Linked DNA regions of Homo sapiens: regions 2 and 3 are each linked to region 1. Evidence: promoter capture Hi-C in human tissues and cell types (Jung and others, 2019). All regions are on one chromosome and are shown on one strand. Each heading gives the region's core, a stretch centred on a gene start or on the middle of the fragment in contact. The rest is flanking DNA. Distances are from core to core; before and after follow the strand shown.

What was found. The method cuts DNA at HindIII sites, captures the fragments that hold promoters and counts their contacts. A contact is called where the count stands out against the background at its distance.
Region 2: the fragment with the promoter of RPS6KB2 here is called in contact with a fragment that was not itself captured in region 1 in 1 of the 25 tissues and cell types used here (dorsolateral prefrontal cortex).
Region 3: a contact is called between the fragment with the promoter of SPTBN2 here and a fragment that was not itself captured in region 1, in 1 of the 25 tissues and cell types used here (dorsolateral prefrontal cortex).

Annotation. Positions count from the first base shown.
Region 1 is chr11:67,111,266-67,114,927 of GRCh38, reverse strand. It overlaps LOC107984341 (a long non-coding RNA gene), which reads left to right. Exons shown (of 2, transcript NR_160735.1): 2 at 2,273-2,636. Among named protein-coding and RNA genes, the nearest start is that of KDM2A, 6.2 kb to the left of the region's middle. The HindIII fragment of the contact is 5,381 bases long and covers 1-3,662 here.
Region 2 is chr11:67,425,910-67,429,743 of GRCh38, reverse strand. RPS6KB2 (ribosomal protein S6 kinase B2) reads right to left here and starts at 1,250. Exons shown (of 15, transcript NM_003952.3): 1 at 1,121-1,250; 2 at 722-762; 3 at 504-624; 4 at 149-217. The coding sequence starts at 1,198. RefSeq lists enhancers at 5-772, 1,207-1,456, 773-1,540, 1,557-1,706. The HindIII fragment of the contact is 10,585 bases long and covers 1-3,834 here.
Region 3 is chr11:66,727,700-66,731,064 of GRCh38, reverse strand. It overlaps SPTBN2 (spectrin beta, non-erythrocytic 2), which reads left to right and starts at 1,849. Exons shown (of 38, transcript NM_006946.4): 1 at 1,849-2,324. The HindIII fragment of the contact is 42,487 bases long and covers 1-3,365 here.

The DNA.
Region 1 (3,662 bases), core at 179-2,678:
GATGACTTATTCCTCGATTCTCTTCCCCCTCCCTTTTTTTTTTTTTTTTTTTTTTGAGACAGTCTCACCGTGTCACCCAGCCTGGAGTGCAATGGCATGATCTTGGCTCGCTGCAACCTCCACCTCCCGGGTACAAGCAATTCTCCTGCCTCAGCTTCCTGAGAAGTTGGGATTACAAGCACCCGCCACCATGCCTGGCTAATTTTTGTGTTTTTAGTAGAGACAGGGTTTCACCATGTTGGCCAGGCTGGTCTCAAACTCCCTGTCTCAGGTGATCCGCCCCCCTCTGCCTCCCAAAGTGCTGGGATAACAGGCATGAGCCACCACACCCGGCCCTCTTCCCTATCCTAACTCCTGGTTTCTCTCCCCGACCCCCGACCCTGGTGTCTCCGCTTTCTATTCTTCCCTCTTCCCTGACTCCAGCTGCCTCTTTCTCCTCATCACCTGCCTCCTGAAGTCTCTTTCTTTCCAGCCTTCTCTCCATCATTTGGCCCACCCCCTCCTCCATGTTCATCTCACTCTCCTGGCCCAGTATCATCTGACTGAATGGCTTTCCCACTTTCCTTTACCATCCATTTGTTGCCCTTAATCACCTCAATCCCGTGCTCTCTGATTTTGTTACTTAACCATTTCCTGAACATCTCCCTCCACCCGCACCCCCCACCCCGGGAAAAAAGAAAAAAAGAAAGAAAACTTCTTCTAGGGTTAAAGGGTGTTGGGGGGTGATTATAAGCTTTAAGTGATAGAAAGTTTTCTTTTTTTTCTTTTTTTGAGTTGGAGTCTCGCTCTGTTGCCCAGGCTAGAGTGCAGTGGCGCGATCTCAGCTCACTGCAAACTCCACCTCCTGGGTTCAAGCGATTCACCTGTCTCAGCCTCCTGAGTAGCTGGAATTACAGGTGCCCGCCACCGTGCCTGGCTAATTTTTGTATTTTTAGTAGAGACGGGGTTTCACCATGTTGGCCAGGCTGGTCTCGAATTCCTGACCTGGTGATCCACCCACCTCCGCCTCCCAAAGTGCTGGGATTACAGCCGTGAGCCACCACGCCCAGCTGAAAGTTTTCTTTCTTTTTTCTTTTCTTTTCTTTTTTTTTTTTTTTTGAGTTTGGAACCTGAATTGATCAGGGGGAAAAAAATGAAGCAGAAATGCCCTGCAGATTCTTGGATCATCAAACATGGGTGTCACATGAGGTTCTTGCATGGAATGTGGCTGACGCTTTCCTTGGGACCATGGGACCACCACCCTCCCTGGCCCCATGCTTCCTTGCTGCCATCTTTTCCAGGTATGTCACCTTCCGCTGTGCAGACCCACTGCTCCTGAGCGCTGGGGTGTACTTTGGCTGTTGGGGCAACTGCAGCAGTGTCTGGGCCCCACCTGCTCTTTAGCAGCCTTAGCTTCGCTTTGGGGCCAGGCCACCCTCATTTCTCACTTCTAAAAGGGTGGGACTTCCTGCTGTGCCCGAGAGTGGAGCTCTAAGATGCAGAGCCTGTGCCTCAGCTACACCTGTGCTTGCTGGGGGAAGTTTCTGGCACCCTGGGGTTTCAGGGTCTGTTTGCAACCTTGCACTAGATTCCCAGCTTGGGTTGGTGGTGACAGTCATACAGGGCTCCAGCCACTTCCCCAAAGGGCCAAATGCTTAAGCACTTAGACCTGTTTAGCCCCTCCCAATGAGTCTGATCTTTTTTTATCTTCTTCAAGGGCATTCGCTACCTTTCATCAGTTTCTGCTAAAGCTGGTGTTCCTTCAGCCACTTTGTGAGAGGTTCTGAACCCGTCAGAACTTCAGTTCTCTTTAATAAAACAGAGTAGGCTGGGCGCGGTGGCTTAAGCCTGTAATCCCAGCACTTTGGGAGACCAAGGCGGGCAGATCACCTGAGGTCAGGAGTTCAAGACCAGCCTGGGCAACATTGTGAAACCCTATCTCTACTAAAAATACAAAAATTAGCTGGGCGCGGTGGCACATGCCTGTATTCCCAGCTACTCGGGAGGCTGAGGTAGGAGAATCACTTAAGCCTGGGAGGCAGGCGGAGGTTGCAGTGAGCCCGAGATCGTGCCACTGCACTCTAGCCTGGGCAACAGAGCAAGACTCTGTCTCAAAAAAATATATATTATATATAATATATGTATATAAATATATATAATATATATAAAACATAATACATGTATATAAATATATATAATATATATAAAACATATATTTAAAACATATATATTTTATATATATAATGTATATAAATAAAACAGAAGTAGTGACTCCTGCCCTGTTTCCTCCTAGGATTGTTGTGGAGTGAAATGGACTAATGGACATGAATACCCTTTGGAAACTAGAAGACAACTTATTTTAGAAAGGATTTCTGAGGTCTTGCACAGTGCCTCATGCCTGTAATCCCAGCACTTTGGGAGGCCAAGGTGGGCAGATCACCTGAGGTTGGGAGTTCGAGACCAGCCTGACCAACATGGAGAAACCCCATGTCTACTAAAAATACAAAATTAGCTGGGCATGGTGGCACATGCCTGTAATCACAGCTACTTGGGAGGCTGAGACAGGAGAATCACTTGAACCCGGGAGGCAGAGGTTGCAGTGACCCGAAATCGCGCTTTTGCACTCCAGCCTGGACAACAAGAGTGAAACTCCATCTCAAAAAAAAAAAGAAAAAAAAAGGATTTCTGGTTTTCCTATTTTTAAAAAATTTTTTACTTGGTAATTTTTTTTTTCATAGAAACAGGGTCTCACTATGTTCCCCAGGCTGGTCTCGAACTCCTGGCCTCATGTGATACTCCTGCCTTGACCTCCCAAAGTGCCTGGGATTACAGGCATGAGCCACTGCACCTGGCCAGTTCTCCTATTTTAAATTTATTTTTATTTTATTGTGGTAAGAACACTTGATGTGAGATTTACCATTTTAACAAAGTTTTAAGTGTACAATGCATTGTCCAGTTTCTTTTTCTCCTACATGTAGGATTTGGGTACTTACTGAGTACACTGTGCCCAATGCTAAATTAAGTGCTTGGATAGAGAAAGGAGATTTGAAAAGTTAGAAGGCTTGACTTTTACCTTCGAAAACTTCATATCGAAGAAAGGACACCATGAAGATGTGACATACTCAGAGAACAATCATCATTCCAATGAATTGCTGGAAGATCATTTAGACCATAAGAACTGGTCTTCAAATTGCACTTGGATATAAGCCCCGTGGGGCAGGAAGTTTTGTTCATTGCTGGATTCCCCAATGCCTAGAACAGTGCCAGGCATAGTTGGCACTCATTCCTTCATATTTATTGAATCAGCCAATAAAGTAGTGCAGTGTTGCTTTTGAGGGAAGGAATATGAAGGCTGGAGAGCATTGAATCCTTGCAGAGAAGCTTGGTTTTGTGAGAGCAAGAGAGGCACATATGTTCTGGAGCAGAGAAGGTTGATGTAATAGTAATTGTTGCAGAGAAACTGTTCCTGCAGCTGTCATTGCAGCTGGAATAGAAGTGATAGAAACCAAATCCTGTACTACTGCAAACCAAGCCAGGAGGTATGTGAATCTTGGGCCAAGTTCTTCACTGTCTTTTTATTCCAGCTCCTCTTGTGATCTTGTCTTTCTGCTCCACTTACCTCTACTGTCTCCAGTTTAGGATGTTGACTTTAGAGTCCACGTCACAGTGCAACTTTTTTTATT
Region 2 (3,834 bases), core at 1-2,500, 310 kb before region 1:
ACAATACACATCACAACAGACAATAAACCAGCAAACGCCAAAGTCAGGGATCCTCCTCCACTGTGTTCCCTGCTGTCTTCCCAAAGCCTGGTACAGCATGTTGGGAATGGCAGCCACACAGTATTCGTTGGCTGAACGAGTGACTCACCTTCCTTAGGACTTTCATGGCATATATTTTGCCCAAGTTGGTGCCTTGCACCTTTCGCACCTGGAACACCTGTAGGGCAGGGGAGACAGGATCAACTTCCCTCTCCACATCCTATCTTCAAGAAGCCCCACCCTGAAGCTCTGGCTTTGGGATCAGGAGGCCTAGGCCCTGCCAAGGGTGGGGCAGTGAAGATTTCAAGTCCGATTGGAGAGGATTTGGCCTTCCCTCCTTTATGTTTCTGGCTCTGAATCCCATTAGAGGCCCTGCTGATTCACAAGTCTAATTTGTTTTGAGAACCCTTTGCTGCCTCCAGATGGAGGCTGTGAGGCCAGGAGGAGGGTGCGCCCGCCCCTACCTTGCCATAGCCCCCCTTGCCCAGCACACGCAGCAGCTCAAAGCAGTGGGGCCCGATGCGCTCTGGGCCAACGTTCACGCTGGTCTCAGTCAGCTCCACCTCTTCATAGTGTCCCACAGGCCTACGGACACAAGGAGTTAATGAGGACAAGGCTCCAGTGCTCCCCAGTTCCCCTTCCCCACTCCATTCCCCCCTCCCCCAACACGACCCTCACTCACTCTAGGCCAGCTGCCCTCAACTCGGCAAGGGGACATGCGTCCTGTGAGAAACCGAGGGGTAAGAGCCAAGGAAGGTGCCAGGATACCTCCCCGCTCCCGTTCAGGTTGGACTGCGTGGCCCAGGAGAGAAGGGTGTCAGGGATGGCAGCTAGTAGGGGATGGGTAAGAATTGGGAAGAAACCGAAGGCAGGAAAGGGAGAATCGGGAGAAAAGGCTGGGGTTCTGGAAGAGAGGTCGGGGTGAGGGTGGGATCAGAACTTAATAGAGACCGGGATCTGAGAAGGATCTGGGTCTGCAAAGAGTCGGAGCCCGCTCTGGGCGTGCGGAGCCGCCGCTCCGGCCTCGGCTGGGTGACAGGATCGGCTCCAGGATCCAGTCGCGCCAGGGCAGGGCACTCACCGCGGGGCTGAGCTCTGGCTCGCCCTCGCCCTCGCTGCCTTCCTCCGTCTCCAAATCCAAATCAAACACGGCCGCCATGGCGGCGCCGGCCCCGCGGGCCCGTCGGCCCGTACCTGGCCGCGCACTGACTGACAGTCCCGGACCTAAACATCATCTCTCCGCGACGGCAGCTGCGCGCGCCGGTGACGCAAGGGATCTTACTCCCCCTCCGGAAAATCGCTTAGCCTGGTGGGGAACAAAGATGGCTTCCGTCGCAAGGCCTCTCGGGAATTGTAGTCCTAGAGTGGCGAGGCGCCTAGCCTTCAGCCTGCAGAATCCTTTCCGCAGGACCCTCGGTCTTCCCAGCAAGGCTTTCTGGGAGCCCGTTTTGGTTCTACGGTGTTTTGAGTTTGGATGGAGCAGGGTCGGAAGTGTATGCAGGTGTGAATGTAAATGCAATCCCCAGCCCTGTTGGAGACGGGTACTGCCAGGCCGGCTGCGTGATGAAAGGCAGGTCGCGTTGCTTTCGGTTCACTCCAGAAAGGGAGGCGGCTGCATCAGGGTCTCCTCAAAGTGCCTCTGGCTCGAGGACCCTGCAAATCGGAGCATTTACTGAGTGGCCAGCTCACTGCCAGGCTATGTTGCCAGGTTCCCGCCTTAAATAGGGTTTTGGGGGTCAGTGATAGACCTGTAAATATGGGATTTTGTTGGCGTTTACTCCCTTCTTAATTTAAGCACATTTAGGCACCTGGTACAGAATAGACACTTCAAAAAACGTTGTTGAGGCCGGACACGATGCCTCACGCCTGTAATCGTAGCACTTTGGGAAGCCAAGTTGGGAGGATCACTTGAGGCCAGGAGTTCAAGGTTACAGTGAGCTATGATGGTGCCACTGCACTCCAGGCTGGGTGACACAGTGAGATCCTGTCTCAAAAAAACAAACAGGCCGGAGGCGGTGGCTCACACCTGTAATCTCAACACTTTCGGAGGCCGAGGTGGGTGGATCACTTGAGGTCAGAAGTTGGAGACCAGCCTGGCCAACATGATGAAACTCTGCCTCTACTATAAATACAAAAAATTAGACGGGTGTGGTGGCGCGCACCTGTACTCCCAGATACTCGGGAGGTTGAGGCAGGAGAATCGCTTGAACTCGGGCGATAGAGGTTGCAGTGAGCCAAGATTGCACCACTGCGCTCCAGGCTGGGCGGCAGAGTGAGACCAAGTCTCAAACAGATAAAACCCGAAAACCTGGCTGGTCACGGTGGCTCACACCTGTAATCCCAGCACTTTGGGAGGCCGAGCCAGGCGGATCACCTGAGGTCGGGAGTTCAGGACCAGCCTGACCAACATGGAGAAACCCCGTCTCTACTAAAAACACAAAATTAGCTGGGCATGGTGGTGCATGCTTGTAATCCCAGCTACTCGGGAAGGCTGAGGCAGGCGAATCACTTGAACCTGGGAAGCGGAGGTTGCGGTGAGCCAAGATCATGCCATTGTACTCCAGCCTGGGCAACAAGAGCGAGACTCCATCTTAAAAAAAAAAAAAAAAAAAAAAAAAAAAAAAAAAAAAACTTTATGGTTTTTTTTTCTTTGTTTTGTTTAGTTTTTCAGACAGGATCTTACTCTGTCACCCAGGCTGGAGTACAGTGGCAAGATCGTGGCTCATTGCAGCCTTGACTTCTTGGGTTCCAGTGATTCTCCCACCTCAAATCCCAAGTAACTGGAATGACATAATCACATAATCTTTTTTCTTTTCTTTCTTTCTTTCTTTTTTTTTTTTTTTAGAGGGGAGGTCTTGTTTTGTTGCCCAGGAGGCTGGTCTTGAACTTCTGGACTCAAGTGATCCTCCTGCCTTGGCCTTCCAAAGTGCTGTGATTACAGGCATGAGCCACTACACCCAGCAAAAACCAAAAACGCTGTTGACAGAATGAACTTAGGCCAGGCAGGGTCGCTCATGCCTGCGATCCCAGCAATTTGGGAGGCCAAGGCGGGTGGATCACTTGAGGTCAGGAGTTCAAGACCAGCTTAACCAACATAGTGAAAACCTGTCTCTACTAAAAATACAAAAATTAGCCGGGAGTGGTGGTGCATGCCTATAGTCCCAGCTACTTGGGAGGCTGAGGTAGGAAAATCGCTTGAACCTGGGAGGCAGAGGTTGCAGTGAATCAAGATCACGCCATTGCACTACAGCCTGGGCAACAGAGTGAGACTCCGTCTCCAAAAAAAGAAAAAAAAAGAAAGAAGGAATGAACACACTCAACACAGCAAATCTTGTCTGTGACATGTGGTCTGTGACTTTAGATTGGGTATGGATTTGGCGGGGCGCGGTGGCTCACACCTGCAACCCTAGCACTTTGGGAGGTCGAGCCGGGTGGATCGCTTGAGGTCAGGAGTTCGACACCAGTCTGGCCAACATGGTGAAACCCCGTCTCTACTAAAAATACAAAAATTAGCTGGGTGTGGTGGTGGGTGCCTGTAATCCCAGCTACTTGAGAGGCTGAGGCAGAAGAATCACTTAAACCCGGGAGGCAGAGGTTTCAGTGAGCCGTGACTGTGCCATTGCACTCCAGCCTGGGCAGCAAGAGTGAAACTGTCTCAAAAAAAAAAAAAAAGATTGGGTATGGATTCTTATTGGATGGGGATGTGTGGGTGTGAATTTGGGTCAGACCAGGCCTTGGGTGTGAGTTCTGATTGTTGGAGGCTGTCTAGGTGTGCCTTCCATGTGCATAGGGGAG
Region 3 (3,365 bases), core at 600-3,099, 380 kb after region 1:
TGAATCCTAGGGAGGTAACTTGCCCAAGGTCACATAGTCAGTGGGTGGCAGAACTATGTTTTAAACCCAAGGAGTCTGACTCCAAAATCAATGCTTTTAACCATTCTGCTATACTCCCTGTCTAGCAGAGAGGAAAGAACATATTAGGATTCAGAAGACCTGGAGTTTCTACCATGAACTAATTCTGTGAACTTGTACATTCACTTAGGTGTCTGAACATCAGTCTGTTCATCAATAGAATAAGAATGAGAATGTTTATCTTACAAGGCTTCTTGAAGGATTATGAAATGCTGAAAATAGGAAATTATAAAAGATATTATTTTGCTAATCATAAGACTTAATACCCTTGACTTCTAATTGGGTCACGATATTATAGGCTGTCATTGAGACCCTTAGTTCCCGTAACCAGTACAGCAGCAGCAGCTTGGTGGTTCCAGTTCCTTTGGCAGGGCAGCTGATTCTCTAATTTTTTTTTTTTTTTTTGGAGATGGAGTCTCGTTCTTGTTGCCCAGGCTGAAGTGCAGTGGCACAATCTCAGCTCACTGCAACCTCTGCCTCCCGGGTTCAAGCGATTCTCCTGCCTCAGCCTCCTGAGTAGCTGGGATTTCATGCCCACCACCACGCCTGGCTAATTTGTGTATTTTTAGTAGAGAAGGGGTTTCACCATGTTGGCCAGGCTGGTCTTGAACTCCTGACCTCGCGATCCACCTGCCTCGGCCTCCCAAAGTGCTGGGATTACAAGGGTGAGCCACTGCGCCTGGCCATGGGCAGCTGATTCTCATCCCATCAGCTTTAATGTCCCTGACCAAGTGTCCCTGATGACCGTCATGCACAGGTTGGTGCCTCCTTCCCCCGAACCAACCAACACATAATCCTACCTCTGGGAAGAGTTGCAGTTTATGCCCTTGTTTCTTTAATGCCATTGCCTGAAAGAGTGGCTATTAAAAATAATAAATAGCCTCAGGCCTGGCACGGCAGCTCACGTCTGTAATCCCAGCACTTTGGGAGGCTGAGGCAGGCAGATCACCTGAGGTCAGGAGTTCAAGAACAGCCTGGCCAACATGGCAAAACTCTGACTCTACTAAAGATACAAAAATTAGTCGGGCATGGTGGCATGCACCTGTAATCCCAGCTACTCGGGAGGCTGAGGCAGGAAAATTGCTTGAACCCGGGAAGAGGAGGTTGCAGTGAGCCGAGATCAAGCCACTGTACTCCAGCCTGGGTGACAGAGCACGACTCCGTCTCAAAATAATAATAATAATAAATAGCCTCAAATGCAGCTAACTGTGAGGTACACACCAGAGAGCCAGTTCCAGTTTCGTGGTAGAAGCACAGATATCAGAGCTAGGAGAGAACTTCAAAGTAATCTTTCAATGGAACTCCCCAACCCTCCTCCCAACCCATTTTATAGACTAGGAAAACCAAGGCGAGGTAGATGACACCACTAGTTAGGGTTGTCAAAACCATATCTGGAAAGTACTTCAATTGCACATATTTGTTTCAGTATGCATACCTTTTCAGAAAGGAGCAAAATCCTAAATTACCCATAAATCTATTATAAAACCTTAAATCCAATAATTCACTCAAAGCCCATTCTTTGAGTGCCCTTACTTGACCATTTCAGGCATTCCCTGGATAGAAACGGGCCCTCATCTTCAGGGGCAGTACATAACCTAACGGCTCTGTACAAAGCTCACCCTGTTACCACTGGCTCATCTCTGAGCTGAGTTCTCTAATCTGGAAGAACAGCACCTACTTCTCAGAGCTGGAGTGGGGGTGGGAGTGTCACATGAGATGATGCGCTTTTAGCACCCACCTGGCACTCTGTGAGTTTGTCATGATTTGGGCATAATTCCTTCCTCTCCTAAGCAGGCAGCAGTTCACCTTGGTTAAGGACCTTGGACCTTAGACCACTCAGACGCTAACAAACCAAGGAGAAACCCAGCCGTGTCAGGCCTAGAAATGTCTGCCCCCACCCCCACCCCCCTCAAGACGGTGACTAGGCCGGAATTCTCCTGGTTGATAAATGAGAGGAGCTGAGAAGCGCTGAGATGCCTGTTTGGAGCATCTGATCTGTAGAAGACGAATCTTCACTGTGCCATGGAGATGTTCTGGGAGGGAGAGCCGGCCCAGCTGCCTGAAGGAGGACGCGAGAGCGAGGGGACGGGTGAGAGGAATGCTTAGCGGAGACGGACTGGAGGTGCCCGGAGAGGAAAGGGGAACGGAGGCTGGATCTCGGGAAACCTCGTCGGCAGTGTCATTAGAGGAAGGATCGCGTGTCTCGGGGATACGGATTTTGGAGGAAAAGCAGAATAGGGACAAAGGTGAGGTGTCCGAACCGGGGAGATCAAGACCTGTAAGCTGTGGTGGGGGACCCAGGGACCAGCGAGGACGGGAAGGCGGGGTTTTGGGGGGACCCCGCACGGAAGGTGGCTGGGGGTCGGCAGCCGGCCTCGGAGCTGCTGCCGCGTTCGCCCCGAGGCAGGTCAACTACCCCGGGCGGGGAGCGGCGGGGAGCACCGAGAGGGGCCTCGGTTGCCATGGCGCTGGGCGGGGAAGGGGCGACTCGGGCCCCGCCCAGAGCCCCGCGGGGCCGCCGGCTCCAGATGGTCCCGGGCCTCCCGCGGGAGCCGGCGGCCTGCGGCAGGGGGAGGCTATTGTCCTCCTTCCGCGGCGCCGCAGTCCCGCCGCTCGCGCCCGCGCGCCGCCGCCACGCGCCCCGCCGCCGCCCGCCCCGCGCGCCCCCCGCGCCGCCTGCGCCCCGTGACAGCGCCCGCCCGCCGCCCGCCGTGCGCCCGGCCGCTGCCTGCAACCGCCCGTCGCGGCCGGGCTGCAGGCGCGGCAACTACCGGTGCGCCCCCGCCCGCCGCGCCCCCGCCCGCCCGGCCGCGGCTCCGCGCCGAGGTAGGTGCCGGCGCCCCGCCCGCTTTGTCCCGGCCCGCGGGGCGGCGCGCTTTGTCCGGCCGCGTGCGGTCGGCGGGGTCGGGGTCGGGGTCGGGGTCGGGTCCCGGCGGCCGGGGTGAGCCGGGGCGGGAGCAGGCGGGGACGGGACGGAGAGGGTCCCGTGCCAGCCACACAGGTACCGGGATGAGGGCGGTGGGGGCCAAGGCCGAGGGGGGGGGACTCGGGCCTCTCTGGAGCCGGGAGAAGAGTCTGGAACAGTTAGGGCTGACGGACACGTTCGCGGCGAGGCTGGGAGCGGGTCTGACAGCGCCGGCCCCTCGCGTCGCCGGGGCTGCGGGGCGGACGGGCCGGCGCCGGGCCAGGTGCTGGGGGCGCGCTCGGCCGCCTCTGCCCGGCGGACTGCGGGAGCCGGGCTCCCTCCTCCCCGGAGCCGCGTGGGCTCCTCCTCGCCTCTTTGGCAG